7 separate regions of the Homo sapiens genome follow, and all the other regions are linked to region 4. Evidence: promoter capture Hi-C in human tissues and cell types (Jung and others, 2019). All regions are on one chromosome and are shown on one strand. Each heading gives the region's core, a stretch centred on a gene start or on the middle of the fragment in contact. The rest is flanking DNA. Distances are from core to core; before and after follow the strand shown.

Region 1 (3,673 bases), core at 201-2,700, 380 kb after region 4:
AGAATTATGAGTGACAGACAGTTGCTGACTTGGAGCACTTCAGTGGCTCATTTGTTTTTCTCTATTTGGTTATACAACAGTGAGACAAGCGTGATGCACATGGCCATTGTCAGGGTGACTTTTCCTGAACAGCATGCTGTGTAGTTACTTTGATTAATCAGAGATGGGAGGACAAGCTCCGTTTTGAGGTCAACATAATACTGAGCTATCCTAGCAATACAAAATTATGTGTGGTGGCGGGCTTCATTGTCTTAACATATGGCTTGGAACATGTTTGAGTGTGCATCTTTTTTTTTTTAATTGTCCTACCTTAAAAACACACACATTTTGCAGACTCTCTGAAGCCCTGTGGACTACTATTAGATAATTGTTGGTTGGGCATGCTGTAATCCCAGAATTTTGGGAGGCAGAGGCGGGAGGATTGCTTGAGCCCAGGAGTTCGAGACCAGCCCTGGAAACATAGCAAGATCCTACCTCTACAAAAAAATTAAAAAATTAGCTGGGCATGGTGATGCATGCCAGCAGACCCAACTACTCCAGAGACTGAAGTAGGATGATCACTTGAGCCTGGGAGTTCAAGGCTGCAGCGAGCCCTGGTTATTCTGTTGCACTCCAGCCTGGGTGACAGAATGAGACCCTGTCCCCACCCTCCCCCCCAAAAAAAAGAAAAGAAAAAAAATGTTATATAACATGAAGACTATCATTTTTTAGTAGATTTTTTTTAAGTTTGTTTTTAAAAGGATGTTGAAGATCTTTAGTTTCTACTCTGTCATCCTTGAGCATATGCTCAGTTCCAGGCCTTGTTAGTCTGACAGATTTGCCCTTTATCTGCCTGTTAAAATCTTCAGTGGGTGAGTAATGAATGTCCCTCCTGGCAGGGCTATTCTGTCTAACAGTATGTAACCCATTTCTGATCCACTCTGGTACTTTCTCTATTGACTTTTCTATAAGTAGCAAGGATCTTGGTGTGTTTGAGGGTAGAGGTTAATATGCCATTATGTGCTATATGAAGAAACTAATTTCGGGGCAATTGGGGCCACCATGAGCATGGCAGAGTCAGGAGCCAACTTGATCTCCTGCTTCCCAGGCTCCACAAGACCTTGTGTCTCAAGCTCACTTCAGAGCTTCTTGGCTTTTGTTCCAGAGGACTTTTCTGTGCTGTCCACCTGAACCAAGAGTGCCCACCTGGCTTTGTGTTAAGGAGGGACGGTTTCTGACTGTCCTGTCACTGTGAGCAACGTACCTTTTCTACTCAATAACTTTATCAAAAGGCATAAGTTTAGAGGGAGCTAGCTAGAACAAATACAGTTTAAACTTTTAAAATGTATTCACCATCTAATTAGGAAGACAGGAATAAATTTTTCTTAAATCTTTACCTTAAATTGATATTTTGAATAACCCTAGAATACATTTAGAGTGTGTTTTCTAGAAGTGCATGTATTACTATAGAGAAATAACTTTTTGGATCATTGTCATTATATGAGTAGTATCAACATTGTTCATGTATATCACTATTTTATCTTATTTACCAGTGCTAATTTAAATCACTGGAAGGTTAAAATCCTACTTAATAAATACGGTATTTGAGAAATCTGGCTACCACATAAAAATGAACAGGAAATACATTTGATATTTAAATTATTTTAATCGCTGTAGAGCATGTTTTGTTAAGCTTTTTCTTAAATGGCTAGATAATAAATTTTTAGGTTTTGAGGGCCATATGGCCTTGTTGCACCTACTGGATTCTTCTTTGAGCAGCTGTAGGCAATATGTAAAACAAATTTTCACCTGTATGGTTGGCTGCAGTGGCTCACATCTGTAATACTAGCACTTTGGGAGGCTGAGGTGGGCAGATCACTTTAGGCCAGGAGTTCAAGACCAGCCTGGGCAACGTGGCAAACCCTGTCTCTACAAAAAATACAAAAATTAGTTAATTGTGATGGTGCACACTTGTAGTCCCAGCTTCTCAGGAGGCTGAGGTGGGTGGATCACTTAAGCCTGGGCAGTCAAGGCTGCAGGGAGATGAGATTGTACCACTGCACTACAACCTGTTCAATAGAGTGAGACCCTGTCTCAAAAAACAAACAAACAAAAACCCCTAAACAAATGCGTATGGCTGTGTTCACATAATACTTTATTTACAAAACAAGTCAAGCTGGCATTGGCACATGGGCTGTAGTTTGCTGACCTTTGCCCTACAACAACAAGTATTAATATGTATTAAGTGTCCAACTCCAGTAAAGATTTTATAGCAGTTTTAAAAAGAAGCCCATTTTAATGGCCTAGCACTGTGGCTCACACCCGTAATCCTAGCACTTTGGAAGGCTGAAGCGGAAGGATCACTTGAGTCCAGGAGTTCAAAACCAGCTTGGGCAACATAGAGAGACCCCGTTTCTACAAGAAATTAAATAAAAATTAAGTAAATAAAAATTTAAACAAAGAAGCCCATTTGAAAGTTTTGGTTATTTTAAAATTCATATTATTTGTTGGTACCTAATGCACTGACATAATTCAAAGTCCAGAAAGCACACAGAGAAATACCTTATCCCCACCTTATCCCCAACTACCCATTCCGTAGAGTCAGCCCTTATCAGTTTCTTGTATATCCTTCCAGAAACATTCTATGGCTAAACAAACAATAGCAAATGTATTGTTTCCTTTTAAAAATTTTTTGGTAAAATACACATAACATTAAAAGTTACCCTTTTTATTTTTATATTTTCCTATTTTGAGACAGGATCTTGCTTTGTCACCCAGGATGGAGTACAGAGGCACAATCACAGCTCATGGCAGCCTCCAGCTCCTGGGCTCAAGTGATTGTTCCACCTCAGCCTTCTAAGTAGCTGAGACTACATGCACACAACATCACACCTTGCTAATTTCTTTAATTTTTTTTTGTAGAGATGGAATCTTGCTATGTTTTTCAGGCTGGTCTCAAACTCCTGGCCTCAAATGACCCTTCCTCCTCAGCCTCCCAAAGTGCTAGGATTACAGGTGTGAGCCACCCTGCCCTGCCTAAAAGTTACCATTATAACCATTTTTAAGTATGCAAGTCAGTGATGTTAAGTACATTCACATTGCTTTGCAACCATCTCTTTGTCTAAATGCAAATGTTTGCATTTTATGTATAGTATTTTCTTTTCTTTTCTTTTCTTTTTTTTTTTTTTTTGCGATGGAGTTTTGCTCTTGTCGCCCAGGCTGGGGTAGTGCAATGGTGTGATCTCGGCTCACTACAACCTCCACCTCCCAGGTTCAAGTGATTCTCCTGCCTCAGCCTCCCGAGTAGCTGGGATTACAGGCATGCACCACCACGCTTGGCTAATTTTGTATTTTTAGTAGAGGCAGGGTTTCTCCATGTTGGTCAGGCTGGTCTTGAATTCCCGACCTCAGGTGATCCGCCCACCTCGGCCTCCCAAAGTTCTGGAATTACAGGCATAAACCACTGTGCCTGGCCGCATGTATAGTATTTTTAACATCTTTTTTCATTTAGCAATATGTAAATTAAAAACCATTTTATTTTCTGCATAATGGTTGGATCACATTTTATTTTACTTTATTTTATTTTATTTTTTTGACGGAGATTCGCTCTGTCACCCAGGCTGGAGTGCAGTGGCATGATCTTGGTTCACTGCAACCTTCCTCTCCTGGGTTCAAGTGATCCTCCTGCCTCAGC
Region 2 (4,093 bases), core at 37-2,536, 350 kb after region 4:
TTTATCTACTTTTTTTTCTTTAGAGCTCTACTTCTGGAAGAATCTACTTTTTGATTTGTGGTTCTGAAATTATAGCAAATTGTGTAATTTATCATATTTTATCACAGGCTAGTATGCATTACTGATTCATACCCTGTTTGCAGCTTTTCTCACTCTGATGCTTGTGTTGATTGTTTTTTCCAGCAGTGCAGGGTAGATTATCAACTGGCTTATAATCAGAAGAGCTTGCTTGTATCACAGTGAGTTATACTTCACTGATTTCACTGGGAAATCTTACTTCCTGAGTTTCCATGGTTAAAGATTTGTAATGCTCAAATCTTCTTTTGATGTTTATTCCATCAGAGAAAACAGAAACTACTTTGTCTTAGTGTTGCCAAATTGAAAAGAGCCTTTGGTTTGGCCAGGATCTTTGTGATAGTGGCACCTGGCAGTGTCTTCCCTCCTGAGGAGCATCCGTGCTCACTTGAGCCTCTCTGATCCTAGTACTGCCTGTCAGAGGCAGCTGGTCCACCTGAGTGCCAAGCTGGCGCTCCTTTGGAGTTTCAGCTGTACTAACTTTTGCTTAGCTGTGAGGAATCAAGGATTTTGCTTTTGCAGGGGGAATTTTTAACCTGTAAACTAAACTCGCTTGCTTTGAAAGGTTTACTAGATTGGCAGATTATTAGTCTGATTATTAGTCCAGTCATATCTATCTTTCAACAGATAGTTTGGCCATGACTTTTTTTTTTTTTTGAGATGGAGTTTCGCTCTTGTCACCCAGGTCAATGGTGTGATCTTGGCTCATTGCAACCTCCGCCACCTGGGTTCAAGCAATTCACCTGCCTCAGCCTCCCAGGTAGCTGGGATTACAGGCACACGCCACCACAGCTAGCTAATTTTTGTATTTTTAGTAGAGACGGGGTTTTGCCATGTTGGCCAGGCTTGTCTTGAACTCCTTACCTCAAGTGATTCACCCACCTCGGTCTCCTAAAGTACTAGGATTACAGGCATGAGCCACCACTCCCAGCCGGCCATGGCTTTTTTCTTTTTTTGTTTTCAGACAGAGTTTGGCTCTTGTTGCCCAGGCTGCAGTGCAATGGTGTGATCGCAGCTCATTTCAACCTCCACCTAGCAGGTTCAAGTGATTCTCCTGCCTCAGCCCCCCGAGTAGCTGGGATTACAGGCACCTGCCACCACGCCCAGCTAATTTTTTGTATTTTTAGTAGAGATGGGGTTTCACCATGTTGGCCAGGCTGGTCTTGAACTCCTGACCTCAGGTGATCTGCCTGCCTTGGCTTCCCAAAATGCTGGGATTACAGGCATGAGCCACTGTGCCCCGCCAACATGTACTGTTATTTATGTTTTAAAAAGATAAAACAATGTTCAGTATTTTGGTGGAACAAGCTTGGTACTATCCTGCATTGTATAGAGTATTACAAAAGAAAATCTTTAGGTGTCATAGTAAAAGATGTCCCAAAAGGTGGAGATAATAATCACACTGAAATGTGAATAGTCATACTAGGAACCTTGTGGTTGGTTTTGAATTTCACACTTTCAGGAGGACGTAGACGAAATGAAGTGCTTTCAGGGTGATATGCGTCCCAGCCAGGGCATATGAAGACTGGTTGAAGAAATGTTTCACACTTGGTTGATAATTATAATAGCTGTCTCCAGCCATGTTCCAGAAATAACATAAGCCTGCTTATGATGTATTTTATATTTGAAATGATAATGGCTTCCATGTGTTGATCACCTACTTTGTGCCAAGTACATACATTATCCATAACCTTTTCTCCAAATCTTTGAAATAGGTGGTATTCTTCCCTTAAGAATCTGGATAATTAGACTAGCTTGCACAGCTAATTTATGCTGCTAATGAAAGGTAGACCTGGGATTAAATGTTGTGCTTTTTGTACTATACCATACTGCCTCTGGCATGAGCATGCAGTGAGGCTGTGGGTGGTGGACACTTCCCCTCTTCTGCTTATGATCAGGTTAATTCCTGAAATTTAAAATGACATTGAATAGTCATAGTAGATAATATTGAGCACTTATGTGCCGTACACCTTTCTAAGCTCTTTGCATGTAATTTATTTAATTCTCACAACTCAGCGAAGTTGTTACCATTATCGTCTCCATCCTGCACATGAGGAAACTGAGGCAAGGGGTGTAGGTGGAAGAACTCGGTTTTGAAATAGGCTGTCCAGCTGCAGAACCCACACTTAGCCCCTGTACTGTTTGATTTATGTAGATGACCATTGTGTATACACAAGAGTGCAAGTTTTTGTTTTTGTTTTTGAGACGGAGTCTCACTCTTGTCACCCAGGCTAGAGTGCAATGGCACAATCTCGGCTCACTGCGATCTCGACCTCCTGGTTCAAGTGATTCTCCTGCCTCGGCCTCCTGAGTAAGCTGGATCTACAGGCGCGCACCATGCCCAGCTAATTTTTCTTCTTCTTTTTTTTTTGAGACAAAGTCTCGCTCTGTCGCCCAGGCTGGGGTACAGTGGCGTGATCTTGACCCACTGCAACCTCTGCCTCCTGGGTTCAAGCAATTCTTCCACCTCAGCTTCCCAAGTAGCTGGGACTACAGGCATGTGCCACCATGCCTGGCTAATTTTTATAATTTTATTTGAGACAAGGTTTTACCATGTTGGCCAGGCTGGTCTCAAACTCTTGACCTCAAGTGATCTGCCCACCTCAGCCTCTCAAAGTGCTGGGATTACAGGTGTGAGCCACCGTGCCCCGCTAATTTTTGTATTTTAGTAGAGATGGGGTTTCGCCATGTTGGCCAGGCTGGTCTTGAACTCCTGACTGCAAGTGATCTGCCCGCCTCAGTTTCCCAAAGTGCTGGAATTATAGTCGTGAGCCACTGCACAGGGTTCCAGCCTTAGTCTTTTTTAGCCTACAAAATGGCAAGTTTATATGATTTAACCTAATATAGATCAAGGGAAGGATATTCCAAAATAAACTATTTTTTGTTTTAGGAAAGAATTGGATGTATTAAAGTTTTGTGTTTTGAACTTCTCCACTGACATACTTTTCCTGTCCAATTATTTGTCTGAGAAGTGTGTATTCTGTTTCACATCGTGTCACTTTTGCTTCTCCTTTTTTTTTTTTTTTTTTTTTTGAGACAGAGTTTCACTCTTATTGCCCAAGCCAGAATGCAATGGCGCGATCTCAGCTACTGCAACCTTCGCCTCCCAGGTTCAAGTGATTCTCCTGCCTCAGCCTCCGGAGTTGCTGGGATTATAGATGCATGCCACCACGCCCAGCTAATTTTTTATATTTTTAGTGGAAATGGGGTTTCACCATGTTAGCCAGGCTGGTCTGGAATTCCCGACGTCATATGATCCGCCTGCCTTGGTCTCCCAAAGTGCTAGGATTACAGGCGTGAGCCATCGCGCCTGGCCAACTTTTTCTTCTCTTACCTGCAACTAATTGATCTGGCATCTTTTATATCTCTTGTTATAGGTAGAAAGTGATTTTAAGGCATTATGCTTTGGGATGTGTGTGTGTGTGTGTGTGTGTGTGTGTGTGTATAGGTTTTTGTTGGTTTAAATTGGCTCTATAACAGCATCCTTCAGACAACCAAACCTAATTTTGAAGTGTAGAGTATAATTTAGATCAAATTTAAGAGTTTTAAAATTACCTCTGATTATGGGATGACACTTGAAAAAGTAATCATAATACTTACCAAAGGTTTAACAGGCTACCTGCTTCCAGTGGAGATTGTGTGATTGTGTTTACGAAAAATCTGATTAACTCAAGAAAGGGCCATTCATTGCATACCGAATTCCTAATTTTTTAAAAAAAGATCCATTTAATATAATATATTCTTGGGTGACCAAATCTGTAGCATAGGAATGACTTAATGTGATTTTTTGTTGGTGGGAAGACATTCTAAAGGGAGTCCTCAATAAACTGCATTTCTAACACACAAGAGGTTCTTGTGGCCTGGGGGCGGTGGCTCACACCTGTAATTCCAGCACTCTGGGAGGCTGAGGCAGGCGGATCACTTGAAGTCAGGAGTTCGAGACCAGGCTGGACCAGTCTCTACTAAAGCTATGAAAAAAAAAAAACTGGACGTGGTGGTGGGCATCTGTAATCCCAGC
Region 3 (4,148 bases), core at 924-3,423, 430 kb after region 4:
CCCCACGGGATAGGAATGGCAGAGCAGGTGATGCTTGAAATCACAGTTTTCTACTGAGGATCCTGGTGCAAGAGCAAATTGAGATACTCAATTGTCATCTTTAATAGAAAAAAGCACTTTAGAGCCTATATTTTTCTATATCTTTAGAAGGACTCCAGAGATTTGAGTTCTAGTCACCAAGTTCCATTCAATATTTGACACTTGATTTGGGTGAGGTCTTCTGTTTTGCTGAGTTTTTTTTTTATTGTCCTGATTTAACCAGACTTATGGGACAGTACTATGCACCCACGTTCCAGGGCCTCCAAGTTCTAAGTCTCAGAGTGGTCCCTGGGCTAAGGTGCTGGATGAACCTACTCCCAGCCTAGAAGCCTCCCGCTGTAACAAAGTACACCCATTTTTCTATGAGATAGAGAATGAGTTATCTTTTTAAATCATCTTTTTCTTCTTTCTCTTTTGTGTTTTTCTTCTGTTCCCCACTTCCTACTTAGCTGATTAGAAATGCAGTTATAACCTTTTGCTTTCCCTTCACCAGACACTCCTAGAGCAAGTGTATCTGTGTGCTTACTTAAAAGCTCCAGAGTAGAAACCTCTCCCACCAGATTGCCTTGAGAGACAATAGTCAATTTACAACCAAAAGTATGCCTGCCAGGAAACTCTGCCCCACCTGGAGAGTATCTCGAGACAAGGCCACTTTACAACCTAGTTCTGCCCAAGATGGTGGCAGCTCGACCAGGCGGTAGATAAGGCACCAAAGTGAGTCATGGAGACTCCCACCTGCTCATTCCCTCCTCTGCATGCCATTTATGCCAATTCCCCCTCCCGCTTTTTTTTTTTTTTTTTTTTTTTTTTTTGAGACAGAGTCTTGCTCTGTCGTTCAGGCTGGAGTGCAGTGGCACAATCTTGGCTGACTGCAACCTCTGCCTCCCGGGTTCAAGTGATCCTCCCACCTCAGCCTCCCGAGTAGCTGGGATTATAGGTGCCCACCACCTCACCCGGCTAATTTTTTTGTATTTTTAGTAGGGATGGGGTTTCACCACATTGGCCAGGCTGGACCAGACCTTGCTTCTGTTAATTGGATGCTACAAATGGAGAGCAAGTGTACCTGACATTTAGCTACACTGCTTTCTTAAAAAAAAAAAAAAAAAAAAGGCCCTGGCCAGGAGTGGTGGTTTATGCCTGTAATCCCGGCACTTTGGGAGGCTGAGGTGGGTGGATCACTTGAGGTCAGGAGCTTGAGACCAGCCTGGGCAACGTGGTGAAAGCCTGTCTTTACTAAAAATACAAAAATCAGCCGGGCATGGTGGCACACGCCTGTAATCCTAGCTACTTGGGCGGCTGAGGCAGGAGAATCACTTGAATTTGGGAGGCAGAGGTTGCAGTGAGCTGAGATTGGGCCACTGCACTCCATCCTGGGAACAAAGTGAGACAGTGTCTCAAAAAACAAAAAAGCCCTATCTTTGCAGGACAGGTGAGCCCCCAAATTGAGACTTAGCTTAGGAGAGTTCTTGGCTTTGCCCAAGGAAGGAATTCAAGGGTGAGCCAGTGGTGTTAGACAGCAATCTTTTATTGAATAGTGCTTCTCCTTGTGGGGCAGGGCTAACTCATGGGCAATGAATCCGGAGTCGATACCCAGTGTATGAGATGTTGGCAACTGTATTTATGCTCATCTCTAATCCCTTCTCAGCCTTTTGGCTGAGATCAAGTGTAGTATACGCATTCCTACCCACTTTCAATCACATGCAAATTAAGGGGCAGGCTAATGCAAATTAAGGGGCAGGTTAATGCAAATTAAGGAGTGGGTTTTTAGAGTTTTCTAGGAAAGAGGTAGCAACTTCCTGGTCATTGCCAAGACATTTGTACACTGTCATGGCACTGGTAGGAGTGTCTTATGTTAATGAGGGATGGGGACAGCTAGGGGGTCCTAGATCCTGTTTTGGTCAGCAGGGTTGTGCCATTCTCCTGTCTCACCAGGACTCTGGCAGCCATTTAGCTACTTTGAGCCCCAGTCTCCTATGTATGGAGTTGAGTAAAAGTTTGGGTGGTTGTGAGGATTAGCTGAGATAATGCCTGTGAGTATCCCATAAATGTTAGACTCCCACATTCCAATCCCTGTGTCCCCTGCCTCCAGAATCTTTCATTGTGACCTTAGGAGATTCTGAGAATGATTTTTCTCAGAGCAGGGCTTCCAGTAGCTGATGGTATGGTAGGAGGAGTGGAGTGGAGCTCTTGCCTTGTTACTGAGGAAATCTATTTGTTTCTAGTATTACTGGATTTTTGGGGAAAAATTTGTAGTCCTCCCCTTGAAAGGCAAAGGGGCTAGTTGTGCCATTTGCCTGCACAGGAACCATGAGGAGACATATGGTAACTTATGCCTGGCAGCTCCTGAAGAAGGAACTGGTGAGGAGGGGCAAGGGCCCTGGGAGGGAAGAGCAGAAGACTGAACAGACAGGTGTTTTGAGGAAGGTCGATGCAGGTGTAGGAGGGGTCTTGGATGAATGGTGGCCATCCTGTACCTTTTGGAGTCACAGCATGGCACAAAGGAGGGACCCCTGCCCTGTAGCCTACCAGCCCCCCACACTGGGCAAGCCATAAGCCACACTCAGAGCCACTGAGTCCTGTTCTGTACCCACTCTTCCTGCTATTATGAGATCCAGAGAGAACGAGGGAGGATAGAGTCAGGGTAGCAACATTGAGTCATAGGTTAAGCTTGTGAACTCTGGAGCCAGACTACCTAGGTTTAAATCCCTATCACCTATTAGTCATGTGACCCCAGGCAAGTTGCTTGGTTTGCTGTGCCTTTATTTTCTCCTCTGTAAAGTGAGATGATAATACTAGTACCTACTGCATAAATTTACTGATTAAATGATTTACATATCAGAATAGTGCTTTGGATAATGCCTGACAATAGTAAATTGTACTCAGTAAGTATTAATTTTATTCATAAAGTACCTTTCCCCATATTTCCATAGATATCTAATTTTTAAGAAATAGAACATTACAGGTGTAGGGAAAGCTCTTTACCATCCCATGCCCCTTTATTTCTCTTTAATAGTAACCACTTTCCTGAAGTTGGTGTCACCCTTCCTGTTTATATTTTTATATATTATCACATGTGTATGTATCCATAAACAATATATAGTATGTGGCACACTGTTTAAAAATGATACCATAAATAGCATCATAGTTCTTTTTTCCCACTCAAAATCATTTCAGCTTTATCCACATTGACACACACAGACTTAGTGCTGTGTTCAATCCTGTGACTGAACCATAATGTATTGATCCCTTCGATCCCTACTAATGAACATTTGTTTTCAGCCATTCACTGTTACACACAATGTTGCCATGATTACCCTCATGGCTATCCCCTTGTACATGTATGTTTCTCTGAAGAGGACATATAAAGTACATACAATTCTTCCATTGTGAAGTACACACATCCTCAACTTTATATAATGTTGCCAAATTGCTCTTCAACATGGTTGTACCATGTTTCCCAGTTCCCAGTGATAAGTGCAAAATAGTATCATGTTATTACTTTAATTTCCATTTCCATTATTTCTAGCAATGTTAAAAATGGTTTCACAATTTGGCTGGGGCATGAAGGCTCATGCCTGTAATCCCAGCACTTTGGGAGGCTGAGGTGGAAGGATCACTTGAAGCCAGAGTTGGAAACCAGCCTGGGCAACAAAGTGAAACCCCCTCTTTACAAACAATGTAAATATAAATACAAATGAATAAAAACAATATTTTCACAATTTATAGGTAATTTGAACTTTCCCTTTGAATTACCTTTGCTCATTTTGCTATTGGGTTATTTGTATTTTTCTTTTGATTTGTAGGATTACAAAAAATAAATTTTGGATCGTAATCCTTTGTTGATTATATGCATAGTAAGTATATTTTTCCAGTCTGTAGTTCGTTGTCTCACTTTGTTTATGATACACTTTAAAAAGAACATTCTCTTTTTTCCTTTGTTTGTTTTTATTTATTTTTTTGAGACAGAGTCTCACTCTGTTGCCCAGGCTGGAGTGCAGTGGCGCAATTTCAGCTCACTGCAACCTCCACCTCCCAGGTTCAAGTGCTCCTGGTGCCTCAGCCTCCTGAGTAGCTGGGATTACAGGCGCCCACCACCACGCCCGGCTAAT
Region 4 (3,670 bases), core at 974-3,473:
CGAGACAGAAGTTTCCACTTCCGCCTCCGATTGACCGTGGGGCCAAATCTCCACTTCAGCCTCTGATTGGCTGTGGGCCAAGTCTCCACTTCAGCCTCTGATTTGGTCGCAGGCCAATCCTTCATAGGTGTAGCCAACTGGAGGCTTCTAAAGGGCACCTAGGGGTGTTGCCAGGTCCCTTTAGCTTAATACAAACCCTGATTGAGGAGGCTCTTGAGCAGCTTGCTCTAACCAGCTGCCGCTATGAATCGTCTTCAATAAATCTATGCTTTTGTTATTCCGTTCTTCTGTTGCTGTTTGTCTTTCGTTGCCCTTCTGTTACTTTATGTGTTTTGTTCAACACGCCAAGAACCTGGACAACTCTATGCTGGTAACAACTGCAGGTAACCTGGTAACAACTGCAGTTTCAAACTCTCCTGGGCTCAACCCCAGCCTCCCAGGTAGCTGAGACTATAGACGCATGCCACCACACCTGGCTAATTTTTTTATTTTTATTTTTATTTTTGGAGACAGAATCTCACTCTGTCGCCCAGGCTGGAATGCAATGGCATGATCTCGGCTCACTGCAACCTCCGCCTCCCAGGTTCAAGCGATTCTCCTGCCTCGGACTCACAAGTAGCTGGGTTTACAGGAGCACACTACCACGCCTGGCTAATTTTTGTATTTTTAGTAGAGATGGGGTTTCACCATGTTGACCAGGCTGGTCTCAAACTCCTGAACTCAAGTGATGCTTCCTGGCTCGGCCTCCTGAAGTGCTAGGGTTACAGATGTAGTTTTTAAAGTTTTTGTAGAGTGGGGTCTTGCTGTGTTGCCCAGGCTGGTCTTAGACTCCTGGCCTCATGTGATCCTCCTCGGTCTCCCAAAGTGCTGTGATTACAGGTGTGAGCCATTGTGCCCAGCCCAATTTTTAATTAAAAAATGGAATGATGGAATGCACATTACTTTGCATCTTTTCCCCCTTAAAAATACATTCTTAGTATACCTAAAGGAGTAAATCTACCTCATTCTTTTGAAAAGTGGCCTAATATTCCATAGAATGGGTGTATCGTGATTTATTCAATTTATTTAATGTATCAGTGGGCATTCTGGCTGGTTCCAGATTTTTGCCATTGAACAATCTCATGCATACATCTTTATGATGTGGTGCACTTAAAATCTTTAAGAGACAGATTCAATATCTTAAGGTGTAACAACCACCCAGATCATGGTACTTTTATCCTTATATTAAAATTTTTTTCTGTTAACCTTGGATAGCTGCTTACATATTTTTTCTTTTTCAAAATTTTTCTATTAACCTTGACATGGTGCTTTTACTTCCTAAAGTGGAATTCCTGTATGAAAGCCTATGAGCTTTTATATCTTACTCATTGCAGCTGCATTACTGTGGGAGCTGTCCCTCTAGAGACACTGGGCTGCAATGGGAAGTGTCAGGGAGAGCTTAAGCTCCATATCACTTGAGTCTAAACCTGGAGGGATAGAGCGTGTCCGTGAGGATCCCAGGGCCTGGAGAGCAATTTAGGGTAATATTCAGAAAGCAGCGCTCAGGAGAAGCACTGGGACGCTGTTTAGGTAAAATCAACCCAAAAGACCCTGATTCCCAGAGTACTTTGAGGTCCAGAAGAACTGGGCTGGAAGCAGGTCCTGCTATTAATTGGCTGTGATCTTGGGCAAGTTATTTAACTTCTCCAGGTCACAGTTTGCTCTTTGGAAAACGGAGATAAGTCACACCTGCTTTCAGGGCGGACACCCTTACTTTACATCAGAATCATCCGATGCCATTCCTAGCGTTTCGGCTTCAGTAGGTGGGAATCAATTATTTGCATTTCTAATAGGTAATCAGTTGATAATGATGCGGCCGGTCCGGTACACTCGAAAAACCACTGTTCCAGGATATTCCAAGATGTTCCAAGAGTCTTAAACACCTGGTGCAGTTCCGAGCACAAGGCACACGAACGGTGCTATTAGCGTTTCTAACCCCGCAGAGAACTCCTCGCACCCCAGTCCTCAAAATCCCGCCCCGGACAGCGGAGGCCGGGGCAGTAGCTTCCAGACCCAATTGCCCGCGCAAGGGGGCGTGGCAGCATCGTTGGGCGGGGCCGCCTGTAAGAGAACGCGGCTAAAGGTGGGGCCAAGCGTGCGGTTTGCTGCGCCTGCGTGAGGAAAAAGAGGGGGGCGTGGCTCCAGGCCGGAAGAGGGAGTCTGTAGGGGCGGGCCGGCTGGCGTCCCCTTTCCGGCCGGTCCCCATGGAGGCGCTGGGGAAGCTGAAGCAGTTCGATGCCTACCCCAAGACTTTGGAGGACTTCCGGGTCAAGACCTGCGGGGGCGCCACCGGTAGGCCGCAGCGGGGCCGGGGTCGCGTGGAGGGGGGCGTCCTAGAGCTTAGCCCGGGCTCCTGGACTCTGACTGGCCTGCCGGTGTCTGAGGGAGCGGATTCGAGGCCATTCTGACCCTCGCCCCTTGTCCTGCAGTGACCATTGTCAGTGGCCTTCTCATGCTGCTACTGTTCCTGTCCGAGCTGCAGTATTACCTCACCACGGAGGTAAGGGGCGGGGCTTAGTGCGTGGGCGGGGCTTGGCATTCTAGGAGTAGGACCTTTAGGGGTGGGAGTGGGGAAGGAGAGGTTTGGGGCTAAGTCTTACTGAGGTAGCGCTGCCCCAGGTGCATCCTGAGCTCTACGTGGACAAGTCGCGGGGAGATAAACTGAAGATCAACATCGATGTACTTTTTCCGCACATGCCTTGTGCCTGTGAGTACCTCACCATGGGTGGGACTGGAGAGACCCAGGGTTCTCATGTGGGCTGCCAGATTCACACCTCCACCCTTAGGTTCTGGACTGGACCCCAGGACAACCTCCTTCTCCTCATCCCGTTCTGCCCCAAGACAGGCCCAGTATCCCCTTCCCCTCCAAAACCCACATCCCCTTGTCCCTAGGGTCCCAGTACCTTAGCCTGATTTTCCTGCTTCCAGATCTGAGTATTGATGCCATGGATGTGGCCGGAGAACAGCAGCTGGATGTGGAACACAACCTGTTCAAGCAACGACTAGATAAAGATGGCATCCCCGTGAGCTCAGAGGCTGAGCGGCATGGTAACCAGGGGAGGGGGCCGGGTCTCAGATCCCAAAGCTGGATGTACCCAAGCCTATCTGCTAGCAAGTGAACTGTGGCAGGCATAGTGATACATTAAACAACTAAGAGCTAGAGAAGTCAAGTGACTTGCCTAGGGTCCCCCAGCTAGTAAGAGTCAGAGTGAGCTAAAATCCTCTATACATATCGAGTCAGGTAATCTACCTGGCTATTATTCTCAGAGGTCCTCAATACCTGCAGATGGTAGTTTGAATACCAGAGGTTTGAAGATAGGTCTTATGTGCTCTTGCCTTGGTAGAACTGTCTAGATGGACCCAGGCTTCTTTGAGTGTTTGCTTTCCCAGCCCATTGGCTTAATTCAGCCCTTAATGCTCTTCCCCTTTGGAATGCAGGTGGTTTAATGAGAATTTAGGTTCTCAAGTCAGATTGCCTGGGTTCACATCTAGCTTTGTCTCCTGCAGTCTGTGAGCTTCAGCTAGAAAGTGGTAATAAAACAGTAGTACCAACCACATGGAATTGTAAGATCAAATGAAGTCATATGTGTAAAATGCCTGGTACAGAGTGGGTACCCACTTTTACCTTCCT
Region 5 (4,114 bases), core at 91-2,590, 300 kb after region 4:
TAGTCCTATTTTTGTTTGGTTTTTCATTTGAAATAAAATCATACTGTATGTAACATTTCGGGTCTGACTTACTTCAATTAGCATATCTTTTGAAGCTTCATTTATGGTGTTTTTTTTTTCTGTTCCTGTAATAACAGTTTGTTTTATTTTTTTAATTTTATTTATTAATTTTTTTATTATACTTTAAGTTCTAGGGTACATGTGCACAATGTGCAGGTTTGTTACATATGTATACGTGTGCCATGTTGGTGTGCTGCACCCATTAACTCATCTTTTTTTGTTTTTTTTTAAAGAGACGTTTTCTTGCTCTGTCGCCCAGTCTGAAGTGCAGTGGTGCAGTCTTGGCTTAATGTAGCCTTGACCTCTTGGGCTCAAGCAATCCTCCTTCCTCAGCCTCCTGAGTACCTGGGACTATAGGCATGTACCACTGTGCCTGACTAATTAAAAAATTTTTTTTGTAGAGACAAGGTCTTATTATGTTGCCCAGGCTGGTCTTGAACTCCTGGCCTTAAGGGATCTTTCTGCCAAAGAAGGAAGATCCTTCGTACCTCCCAAAGTCCTGGGATTATAGGCGTGTGCCCTTGTGCCTGGCTAGTTTTAAGGTTTTTAAACAGGCATTGAGACATCTATAATGGTCCTGCTGCTTTTGGATCTGACTCAGACTCAGCCCTGCCTTCTATTTTTCTTTCTTTTTTTTTTTTTTTTTGAGGCAGTCTTACTGTATGGCCGAGGCTGGAGTGCAGTGGCATGATCTTGACTCACTGCAACCTGTCTTTCGGGTTCAAGTGATTCTCGAGTCTTAGCTTTCTGAGTAGCTTGGACTACAGACGCATCCAACCACACCTGGCTAATGTTTGTATTTTTAGTAGAGGTGGGAGTTCATCATGTTGGCCAGACTCCTGGCCTCAGGTGATCCACCTTCCCCAGCCTCCCAAAGTGCTGGGATTACAGGCACGAGCCACTGTGTCCGGCTTATTTTCTGTTTTAACCCTATTAGGGAACTTGAACTATTGCTGGCCTTTTTTTTCTTTTTCCCAATTAAGGATTATTCAGTATTGTTCCATTTGACTTTTCAGTGTTCATTCTACAAATTTTTTTTTTTTTTTGAGACAGAGTCTCACTGTATCACCCAGCCTGGAGTGCAATGGCGCAATCTCGGCTCACTGCAACCTCCACCTCCTGGGTTCAAGTGATTCTCCTGCCTCAGCCATCGAGAAGCTGGGATTACAGGTGGCCGCCACCACACAGGCTAATTTTTGTATTTTTAGTAGAGACGGGGTTTCACCATGTTGGCCAGGCTGATCTCAGGTGATCTGCCCACCTTGACCTCCCAGAGTGCTGGGATTACAGGTGTGAGCCACTGCACCTGGCCCATTGTACAAAATTTATCAGTGCAAACTGTGTGCTGGGAAAAGAGTATAAAATATTAAAGGTGAATGGTTGCTTTCCCTGGCAAAAGACCCTTTAGAAGTGTAGATGGCATTAAATGCTGCTTCCCTGAGTATGAAGTAGCCTCATATCTTCTGACTCCTATACTGGATGTGTATTCTAGTAGTCCTGGCCTCTTAGACTCATTTTCAGAATGTATGCTGGTTAGGGTGGAATTATCATCAGTGCTGTTCTGTGCCTGCCCAGACCTCTTGGGCTTATTGAGGTCTTGTGTCCCAGCCCTTTTGTTTTGACTCCTGTCTTAGTCTTTTCTGTGTTGCTATAATAGAATACCTGAGACTAGGTAATTTATAAAGAAAAGAGGTTTGTTTAGCTCACAATTCTGCAGGCTGGGAAGTTCAAGTGCATGGTACTGGCTTCTGGCATCAGCTTTCATGCTGTGTCATACATGGTGGAAGGTCAAAAAGGGAGACAAGTGTGAAGAGAGGGACCAAACAGAAGGAGACTTGCTTTGTAACAACTTGCTTTCTTGGGAATGAATCCATTCCCAGGAGAGCGAGAAGTCACTCCTGTGAGACAGCATTAATCTATTCATGAGGGATCTGCTACCATGACCCAAACACCTCTCATAGGCCCCATTTTCAACACTGCTGCACTGAAAACGTTTACTTTTGGTGAGGACAAATGACACCGAAATTATAGCAACTCCTAGTGTTGAACAACAGAAATATCTTCCTCCATCTCAACAGCTACTTTCCCTTCACACTTTCTTATCAATCCCAGCTTCTTTTATGAGATCTGGTATGTCCTGTATGTCCTGTGAAATTAGGTTGGTAACAGGATCTTTTTTTTTTTTTTATGTTTTTTAGGAATTTCAAATAAATGAGCAGGTCCTTGCTTGCTGGTCTGATTGTCGTTTTTACCCGGCCAAAGTCACTGCTGTTAACAAGGATGGTAAGGCATTTGAGTTGTAGTTGTTTTTACTCATGACTTAGGTGGTGGGGGGGGATGTTTGTAATATCAGAGCTTGATAGTATATTTTCAGTATTTATTTACTGCCTAGGTATCCGCTTTATTCAAGTTAATCACTATGTCAGGAGTTGGGTAGAAATTATAAGTGTAAAGAAAACTGGACAAAAAAGATAGTTTGACTTTTTACCCCCTGAATTTCAGTCATTGTTTTCTAAAACAGTCACAGTTCATCTGTCACTCTGCCTGGAAGTATGCAGGTACTTGCTGTCTAGGAGTTCCTAATATAATTGATGACATAGTCCTGAATATTTGTGAATAGCTTAGAAATTAAATGAACACTAACAAACTTTAAAAAATGTGCTTTCTAGATGCAAGGTGACTGAGGGTGGTCTGTAACATTGGAGTTGCTAGTGGAAACTGGGATGCCGGAATTTAGAGCACTGAGTTGGGTTTCATTTGCCAGAGTTGAACATGTGAAGAGACAGGATGGGGAACTTGACTAATAGAGGCTCAATTTTGCTAGTAAAAGGGCAGACAAAGAGTTATGAGGATAATATGTACGGTCAGGATCCTGGCACCTGGAGAATAGAGTCTGGGTCCCAGTGATACCATTGTAAGCACATTCCACTAGGGTGTGTGTGGTCTCCATGATCTCTGAAGTGAGTGTTTAGGGAAGTCAGGCCTCTTGATGCCACTGTAGGGTTGACTATTAGGCCAGCCTGACTTTTCATTTGATGAAGTTATTCAGATATTTATTAATACTCTGCTAACTGCTGGGCCTCAGGCTGACCAAGTTTTGTCTGAGAATGATTTTTTTTTTCTTGTTCTTTTTTGGGACAGAGTCTTGCTCTGTTGCCCAGGCTGGAGTGCAGTGGTGCCAGCTCAGCTCACTGCAACCTCCATCTCCTGAGTTCAAGCGATTCTCCTGCCTCAGCCTCCCGAGTAGCTGGGATTACCAACGTGCACCACGGTCAGCTAAATTTTGTATTTTTAGTAGAGACGGGGTTTCGCTATGTTGGCCAGGCTGGTCTCATGTGATCCACCCACCTCGGCCTCCCAAAGTTTTGGGATTATAAGCGTGAGCCACCATGCCCAGCCGCAACTTTTTAGAAAAGTATTTTTCAGGCCAAACACGATGGTTCTTGCCTGTAATCCCAGCAGTTTGGGAGGCTCTCGTGGGAGGATCACTTGAGGCCAGGAATTTGAGACCAGCCTGGGCAACATAGTGAGACCTCATCTCACTATGAAAAAAAAATTAGATGAGTGTGGTGACATGTTCCTGTAGTCCTAGCTACTCGCATGGCTGAGGTGGGAAGATCCCTTGAGCCCAGGAGTTTGAGGCTACAGCAAGCTATGATAGTGTCATTGTACTCCAGCCTGGGCAGCAGAACGAGACTCTGTCTCTTAAAAAAAAAAAAAAAAAGTCTTTTCAGTTGTGCTTCCTCCATAAGCTAAAATTATAGGAGGGAGAGTCTCGAGGCTATGATAGTTCCTAAAATGGTCATTTGCAACGCTAATATCTTGTTTCTGAAGCTCCATATTCTGTCCAGTGAAATTTAGTTAATTGAAGGACATGAAAATGAATGGAAATTTCTGCCAAAACCTGTTGTCCTGAGGTTCTTGGGTCTGAAGTCCTGTATTATGCTGACACATTGACTGGTTTTTGGGACTAACTGGAAGAGGGAGGAGAGGATATGGGAGAGGGGCAATCCTGAAACAGAAAGTTAGTGGGGCAGGCTGGGTAGTACTATTG
Region 6 (3,753 bases), core at 765-3,264, 330 kb after region 4:
GACCATGGGTTACTTAGAAGTATGTTGTTTCAGTTTGAAGTATTTTATGTTTTTGTAGATACCTTATTGCTATTGATTTCTAATATAGTTTTACTGTGGTCAGAGAACATACTCTGTAGGATTTCAATCTTTTTATATTTGTTGCGATTTAATTTATGGTCCAGCATATGATCTGTCCTGGTGAATGTTTCATATGCACTTGAAAAGAATGTGTATTTTACCGTTGTCATGTGTTTGTTCTGTATCTGTCAGTTAGATCAAGGTAGTTGATGGTGTTTCTCTGATAAATTGATTTTTGTGGGGTTTTTTTCCTTTTGGTCTAGTTCTGTCAATTTCTAAGAGAAGGTTGTTAGGTTGTTAAAATCTCTGTTATTGTGGATTTGTTCATTTCTCCCTTTAATTTTGTCATTTTTGCTTTGTGTATTTTGAAGATCTTTTAGATGCATACACATTTATAATTTTTTTTTTTTTTGAGACAGAATCTTGCTTTGTCACACAGGCTGGAGTGCAGTGGTTGATCTCCACTCACTTCAACCTCTGCCTCCTGGGTTCAAGCAACTCTCATGTCTCAGCCTCCCGAGTAGCTGGGATTACAGGAGTGTGCCACCACGCCCAGCTAATTTTTGTATTTTTAGTAGAGACAGGGTCTCTCCGTGTTGACCAGGTTGGCCTCGAACTCCTGACCACAGGTGATCTGCCCACCTCGGCCTCCCAAAGTGCTAGGATTACAGGTGTGAGCCACTATTTCTGGCCTAAATGTAATTGTTGATATGGTTGGTTTTTAGGCTAACATTTGGCTGTGTTTTGTCTGTTTTTTTGTTTTTTTTTTTTTTTTTTTTAAGACAGAGTCTTGCTCTATCGCCCAGGCTGGAGTGCAGTGGTGCGATTTCTGCTCACTGCAACGTCTGCCTCCCGGGTTGAAGCGATTCATCTGCTTCAGCCTCCTGAGTAGCTGGGATTATAGGCACCCACCACCACAATCGGCTAATTTTTGTATTTTTTAGTAGAGACGGGGTTTCACCATGTTGGCCAGGCTGGTTGTCTGTTTATATTATTTGTGTTTTGTTGTTTTGTTTCTTGTTTTTTAGGTTAACTGATTTTTTAAGAATTTCATTTTAATTCATCTGTTAGCTTTTAGCTGTATTTCTAGCATTTTGAAAGAGGTTACTCTATGGATTATGGTATACATCCTTAACTTCTCACAGTTCACTTAGAGTTAATATTTAACCACTTTATGTAAAAATGTTCCATTAACCTCCCCCATGTTGTAGTTGTCACATGAATTATATCTGTATATGCTATAAATTCCTTTTTAAAAAATTTTTTATTTACATATTTTTTTGAGATGGCATTTCACTCTTGTTGCCCAGGTGGAGTGCAATGGCACGATCTTGGCTCACTGCAACCTCCACTTCCCAGATTCAAGTGATTCTCCTGCCTCAGCCTCCCAAGTAGCTGGGATTACAGGCATGTGCCACCACGCCTGGCTAAATTTTTTTTGTATTTTTAGTAGAGATGGGGTTTCACCATGTTGGTCAAGCTGGTCTGGAACTCCTGACGTCAAGTGATCTACCCGCCTTGACTTCCCAAAGTACTGTGATTATAGGCGTGAGCCACCACACCTGGCCTGCTATAAATTTCATAATGTAGTATTATAAGTTTTGCTTTACACAATTATGTATGTTAAAGACGATAAGGCAAAAAGCGACAGTCATATTTACACATGCCTATTTCCAATGTTCTTTATTTCTTCGAAGATTTCTTTTCAGCATGAAGAATTTCCTTCAGATTTTCTTATAGGTTCCTGATGACAAATTCTTCTGGTTTTTGTTAAAACTTGACTTTTTTTTTTTAAAGATAGAGTCTCACTCTGTTTCCCAGGCTGGAGTGCAGTGGCACAATCACAGCTCAGAGCAGCCTGGACCTCCTGGGCTCAAGTGATCCTCCTGTCTCAGTCACTTGAGTAGCTGGGACTACAGGCGTGTGCCACCATGTCCAGCTAATTTTTTTTCTTTTCTCAACTTTTAGTTAAAAAACAAACAAATAAGACTGTGTGTCTATAGAATTGTCTACTTTTTATTTGGATAACTTAAAAAATTTTTTTTTGAATAGTTTTTTTTTTTCTTGGCCAGATGCTATATAGTTAACATAAATGTAGTAGAGCAGCTGTTTGAAAATAGTGAATCTCAGCACTCTGGGAGGTTGAGACTGGAGGGTCACTTGAGGCCAGGAGTTCAAGACTCGCTATATTGAAGGCCTTGCATCAACATAGTGAGACCCTCCCTCTTCAAAAAATAAAAAAATTAGCCTGGCATGATGGTTCATGCCTATAGTCCCAGCTACTTGGGAGGCGGAGGTGGGAGGATCACTTGAACCAGGGAGGTCGAGGCTGCCTTGAGCTGTGATTGTACCACTGCCAGCCTGGGTGACAGAGGAAGACCCTATCTCCTAAAATATTTTAAAAAATTGGCCAGGGGTGGTGGCTCACGCCTGTAATCCCAGCACTCTCGGATGCCTAGGCGGGCAGATCATTTGAGGTCAGGAATTCGAGACCAGCCTGGCCAACATGGTGAAACCCCGTCTCTACTAAAAATACAAAAATTTGCTGGGCTTGGTGGCGCACGCCTGTAGTCCCAGCTACTCTGGAGATTGAGACAGGAGAATTGCTTAAACCCAGAAGGCAGAGGTTGCAGTGAGTTGAGATCGCACCACTGCACTCCAGCCTGGGTGACAGAGTGAGATTCCATCTCAAAAAAGAAAAAAAAAAAATTAAAAGAGTACCGAAGTATTCATTCCTAGCTCATCTCGGCGGCTGTTCTCTTAGTTCTCTGTCTAGCTTCGTCCATAGTGTTGTGCTTCAGCCTCGAGGGCTTGTCGGGGCAAGGGATCTTCCTTTTTTTGCTACTCCTCCTCTTAGTGTCAGGGCTCTTTTCTTCCCAGCCTGCTCTTCTGACATGTGGGGCAAATTACTAAAGTTCATATGTAAATGAGGTGGAAATTTAATCTCGGAATTTAGTTGTCTGTCTTGGCAGGGAGAACTCTAGATGACAGCCACATCCCCTGTGACTCAGCAGACTAAGCTTTTAATTATGTTGTCTTAAGGGTAGTGGTATGTTAGACGTCACTTGAAATTTGTAGTTAATTGTTCCTACACCACTAGGAAACACGCCATGCATATAAGTGAGGAGACTAGATTAGAAGCTAACTCCAGTGCCTTTTGTAAAGTTTACGTATTTTATGGGGTCTTGGGCTATACTTTTTCCCAAAATATACACATACATAATTTCTGTCTTGTGTTAGCTAACCTAATTATGTTTCTGGATTGTGGAGAGGACAGAATCAAGTATAGTAAGGGTGGGACAGGTGAGTCTAGGGGAAAAGGATGATGATGAGATTTCATGTCGTCGTCTGCATCCTTACAAAGGTCTCACAGTAGCCTTTCTAAGGGAATAATTTTGAAACCATTGCAACTGATTGAAGCACTTATCTATTTTCCAAGAGGGTTAATAGTAAGGGTGGAGGTCAAATTACTTTGAGCTTGAGCCAAGAGGAATAAATATAGCATGGAACCCATTACTGTATTTTTTTTTTTGAATGAGGTATTTGCTTTTTGCTTTAGTGACTTAAAAGCCAGAAGAGATGGCCGGGCCTGGTGGCTCATGCCTGTAATCCCAGGACTTTGGGAGGCCGAGGTGGGCAGATCACTTGAGGTCAGGAGTTCGAGACCAGCCTGGCCAACATGGTGAAACCCCA
Region 7 (3,614 bases), core at 2-2,501, 400 kb after region 4:
AAGCTTAAAGATTTTATTTAGGTAAACAGACTTTTGCATAGTATTTAAGATTAATCAAAATCCCTTTTTATGGAATCAACTCTTTATTTAAACACCAAGATAAACTAAGCTTTCTTTCTTTCTTTTTTTTTTGAGATGGAGTCTCGCTCTGTTGCCCGGGCTGGAGTGCAGTGGTGCCATCTCAGCTCACTGCAAGCTCCGCCTCCCGGGTTCACGCCATTCTCCTGCCTCAGCCTCCCGCGTAGCTGGGACTACAGGTGCCCGCCACCAGGCCCGGCTAATTTTTTATATTTTTAGTAGAGACAGGGTTTCACTGTGTTAGCCAGGATGGTCTCGATCTCCTGACCTCATGATCCGCCCACCTTGGCCTCCCAAAGTGCTGGGATTATAGACGTGAGCCACCGTACCCAGCCCTAAACTAAGCTTTCATAACCAAGTTTTAAAATAGGAATTTGGATGTAACATTCCTTTTTTAAAAAGCCGGCCTGCTTAGCTGGGTGTGGTGGTGCACACGTATAATCCTAGCTACTTGGGAGGCTGAAGCAGCAGAATCTAGGAGGCGGAGGTTGCAGTGAGCTGAGATCATATCACTGCACTCCAGACTGGGCAACAGAGTGAGACTCAGTCTGAAAATAAAAAATTTAAAAAAATTTAAAAGCTGACCTGGCGTGGTGGCTCACACTTGTAATCCCAGTGCTTTGGGAGGCCAAGGAGTTCAAGGTTACAGTGAGCTATGATCGTGTCACTGTACTCCAGCCTGGGTGACAGAGCAAGACCCCATTTCTTTAAAAAAAAAAAAAAAAAAGCCTAGTAAGCTATTATATGAAATATATATATATATATGCCATTGTTTTACAATTGGCCATTATTTAATTATTTATGTAGTTATATGAATAGTACTTTATTTATTTATTTATTTATTTATTTTTGAGACGGAGTCTCGGTCTGTTGCCCAGGCTGGAGTGCAGTGGCACGATCTCGGCTCACCACAACCTCCACCTCCTGGCTTCAAGCAATTCTCCTGCTTCAGCCTCCCGAGTAGCTGGGATTATAGGTGCACACCGCCATGCCTGGCTAATTTTTGTATTTTTAATAGAGACGGGGTTTCACTATGTTGGCCAGGCTGGTCTCGATCTCCTGACCTCATGATCTGCCTGCCTCGGGCTCCCAAAGTGCTGGGATTACAGGTGTGAGCCACTGCACCCAGCCTGAACAGTACTTTAAAACTAAAAGACAAAGGATATTTAATGACCATGAAAAGTAAAAAAGTCTTTTGGCATTAGAGAGATTATTTTCTTAAATAAAAAATGTTGCCTTGGTGAGCAGTGGTCTCTATACACATGATCTTAGTGTATTTGAACAGAATTTTTTCCTCTGTAACCTTCTGTCTTGCTAGCAACCACTATGCTAGTTGGAAGCTGTTCTGCATCTTTAAAAGAGACACTTGGGATGGTGCAGCACATGGTATGGAGAGGGTGGCCTGCTGGATGCTGGGGTCCAGAGGAGATGCTGTTGACTTCCCACAGTCCTGGCTTTGTTCTTCAGCCTAACAGACCTAGACAGACAGCTTCCATCTCAGGAACTCCACACACTCCTGTTAACCAAGCTCAGGCACTACTGAGTGGCTTAGACTCTTCCAGTCTGAGCGTTGGTGCGCTTTCACACTGTGCATGCCTCCTGGGCCACCGTAGTATCGGGATGTCTTTGGTGAGCCTGGAACTAGATCCAAGGTAGTTAGGGTGACCTTAAGAGGGGCCTCTCAGCAACTGTAGGATCATCTTGCAAAAGATTGACTGACTCTCTTTGCTGTTGGAGTGACCCATCCAGTCCTGACTGCCTTTTGTCCATTTATTTATTTTTATTTTATTTTATTTTTTTAAGACGGAGTCTTGCTCTTTCTCGCCCAGGCTGGAGTACAGTGGCATGATCTCGGCTTACTGAAGCCTCTGCCTCCCAGGTTTAAGCGACTCTTCCTTCCTCAGCCTCCCAAGTAGCAGGCAGATGCCTGCCACCACACCTGGCTGATTTTGTATTTTTAATAGAGATGGGGTTTCACCATGTTGGCCAGGCTTGTCTTGAATTTCTGACCTCAGGTGATCCACCTCCCTTGACCTCCCAAGGTGTTGGGATTACAGGCGTGCACGTCCGGCCTCTCCATTTATTCTTCTGCCTGTTTGCTGAACAGTCCCCTGTCTCCTTCTAGTTTTTTTTAAAGACTTACTGGTGTTTTGAAACTGGTCACTATCCAGTTTTCTTGCTCAGCAGGCCACTAGTTCCTCTCACATGACTGATCTTTTACTAATGGTTTTCAAGCTTAAGTCTGAGGAGGTGGTCTTATTTTTCTTATTTCCAAGTCCTTGTACTTGCTGGAATTAGGAAGAGAGAGGGTTCCTCCTTCTTGGAACCCCCAAATACCAACAAGAAATATGATGGAGGAGGATAAACTACATAGGGCCCAGAGCAATGGGTAGGGCGCTTTGCTGGACCACACATTCCTTCTCTCGCTGTGTTTGTTGCAGGCTTGCCACATTTCAGACACAGGTGAGTGTTAGGGATATAGTGGCAAGCAAGGCAGACTCAGCCTTTGCCCTCGTGGAACTTGATCTAGTGGGAGAGACATATATTAAACAAATCATCCCATTACCTGTAATGACAAACCATAGTAAATGCTCAAAGGAGAACATGTGATATCATAGCACCTGTAACACAAGGACCAGATTCAGGGTATAGGGTTGGGGAAGGCTTCCCTAAAGAATAGCTCACAAGAAACAGAGGATTTAGAAAGGTGGAGAGGAAGGTAGGGCTGCATCTGAGGACAGGAGAGGATTGCGCAGTAGGTTGCAGGCTGCTTGATGAAGAGGTACTGGGTGGGCCTTTCTTTTGCTGCACTCCAGGGTCCAGAAGGTGCTCAGTACAGGTTGGTGCATGGACTAGAAAGGCTACAGGCAGGCTGGGATAGCACAGGGGCTACCTGCAGGGGGTGGTTCTTGTCAAAGGTGCAGGGTTCCCAGATGGTCTCTCCCCAAATGCCAGAGCTTTAGGGGGTAGCTTAGGGAAGAACAAACATCTTTCTGTAGAGAAATACTTGTTCTCACAAGCAAGACAGCTTTCTAGATATTGAACCAATGATGATAATGTTAATTAATACCTGAAATCTTACATTAAATATTTAAAGGGGTCCTGCATGGTGGTTCATGCCTGTAATCCTAGCACTTTCAAAGTGGCCAAGGCAGGTGGATCACCTGAGGTCAGGAGTTCGAGGCCAGCCTGGCCAACATGATGAAACCCCATCTCTACTAAAAATAACAAAAATTAGCCAGGCGTGGTGGTGTGTGCCTGTAATACCATCTCCTCAGGAGGCTGAGGCAGGAGAATCGCCTGTACCCGGGAGGCGGAGGTTGCAGTGAGTCGAGATCATTGCCATTGTACTCCAGCCCAGGCAACAAGAGCGAAACTCTGTCTCAAAAGAAAAAAAAAGGCCAGGCCCAGTGGCTCATGCCTGTAATCCTAGCAGTTTGGGAGGCCGAGGTGGGTGGATCACCTGAGGTCAGGAGTTTGAGACCAAAATACAAAAATTCGCCGGGCGTGGTGGCACATGCCTGTAATCCCAGCTA

What was found. The method cuts DNA at HindIII sites, captures the fragments that hold promoters and counts their contacts. A contact is called where the count stands out against the background at its distance.
Region 1: a contact is called between a fragment that was not itself captured here and the fragment with the promoter of ERGIC3 in region 4, in 1 of the 25 tissues and cell types used here (spleen).
Region 2: a fragment that was not itself captured here is called in contact with the fragment with the promoter of ERGIC3 in region 4 in 3 of the 25 tissues and cell types used here (liver, lymphoblastoid cells and mesenchymal stem cells).
Region 3: a contact is called between the fragment with the promoter of CNBD2 here and the fragment with the promoter of ERGIC3 in region 4, in 1 of the 25 tissues and cell types used here (mesendoderm cells).
Region 5: a fragment that was not itself captured here is called in contact with the fragment with the promoter of ERGIC3 in region 4 in 4 of the 25 tissues and cell types used here (adrenal gland, hippocampus, lymphoblastoid cells and 1 more).
Region 6: a contact is called between a fragment that was not itself captured here and the fragment with the promoter of ERGIC3 in region 4, in 3 of the 25 tissues and cell types used here (dorsolateral prefrontal cortex, hippocampus and lymphoblastoid cells).
Region 7: a contact is called between a fragment that was not itself captured here and the fragment with the promoter of ERGIC3 in region 4, in 8 of the 25 tissues and cell types used here (aorta, dorsolateral prefrontal cortex, hippocampus and 5 more).

The regions. Positions count from the first base shown.
Region 1 is chr20:35,921,040-35,924,712 of GRCh38, forward strand. The region is part of intron 13 of PHF20 (PHD finger protein 20); the gene reads left to right. Among named protein-coding and RNA genes, the nearest start is that of SCAND1, 32 kb to the right of the region's middle. The HindIII fragment of the contact is 7,739 bases long and covers 1-3,673 here.
Region 2 is chr20:35,892,596-35,896,688 of GRCh38, forward strand. All of the region lies in intron 9 of PHF20 (PHD finger protein 20), which reads left to right. Among named protein-coding and RNA genes, the nearest start is that of SCAND1, 60 kb to the right of the region's middle. The HindIII fragment of the contact is 6,428 bases long and covers 1-4,093 here.
Region 3 is chr20:35,966,417-35,970,564 of GRCh38, forward strand. It overlaps CNBD2 (cyclic nucleotide binding domain containing 2), which reads left to right and starts at 2,174. Exons shown (of 12, transcript NM_001365709.1): 1 at 2,174-2,397. The coding sequence starts at 2,347. It also overlaps the pseudogene LOC124904982. The HindIII fragment of the contact is 12,223 bases long and covers 1-4,148 here.
Region 4 is chr20:35,539,855-35,543,524 of GRCh38, forward strand. It overlaps ERGIC3 (ERGIC and golgi 3), which reads left to right and starts at 2,224. Exons shown (of 13, transcript NM_015966.3): 1 at 2,224-2,331; 2 at 2,469-2,539; 3 at 2,659-2,746; 4 at 2,968-3,087. The coding sequence starts at 2,244. RefSeq lists an enhancer at 1,896-1,985. The HindIII fragment of the contact is 35,337 bases long and covers 1-3,670 here.
Region 5 is chr20:35,845,092-35,849,205 of GRCh38, forward strand. It overlaps PHF20 (PHD finger protein 20), which reads left to right. Exons shown (of 18, transcript NM_016436.5): 4 at 2,259-2,343. Among named protein-coding and RNA genes, the nearest start is that of PHF20, 75 kb to the left of the region's middle. The HindIII fragment of the contact is 7,233 bases long and covers 1-4,114 here.
Region 6 is chr20:35,872,648-35,876,400 of GRCh38, forward strand. All of the region lies in intron 9 of PHF20 (PHD finger protein 20), which reads left to right. Among named protein-coding and RNA genes, the nearest start is that of SCAND1, 80 kb to the right of the region's middle. RefSeq lists an enhancer at 2,782-3,341. The HindIII fragment of the contact is 5,621 bases long and covers 1-3,753 here.
Region 7 is chr20:35,942,710-35,946,323 of GRCh38, forward strand. All of the region lies in intron 17 of PHF20 (PHD finger protein 20), which reads left to right. Among named protein-coding and RNA genes, the nearest start is that of SCAND1, 10 kb to the right of the region's middle. The HindIII fragment of the contact is 3,743 bases long and covers 1-3,123 here.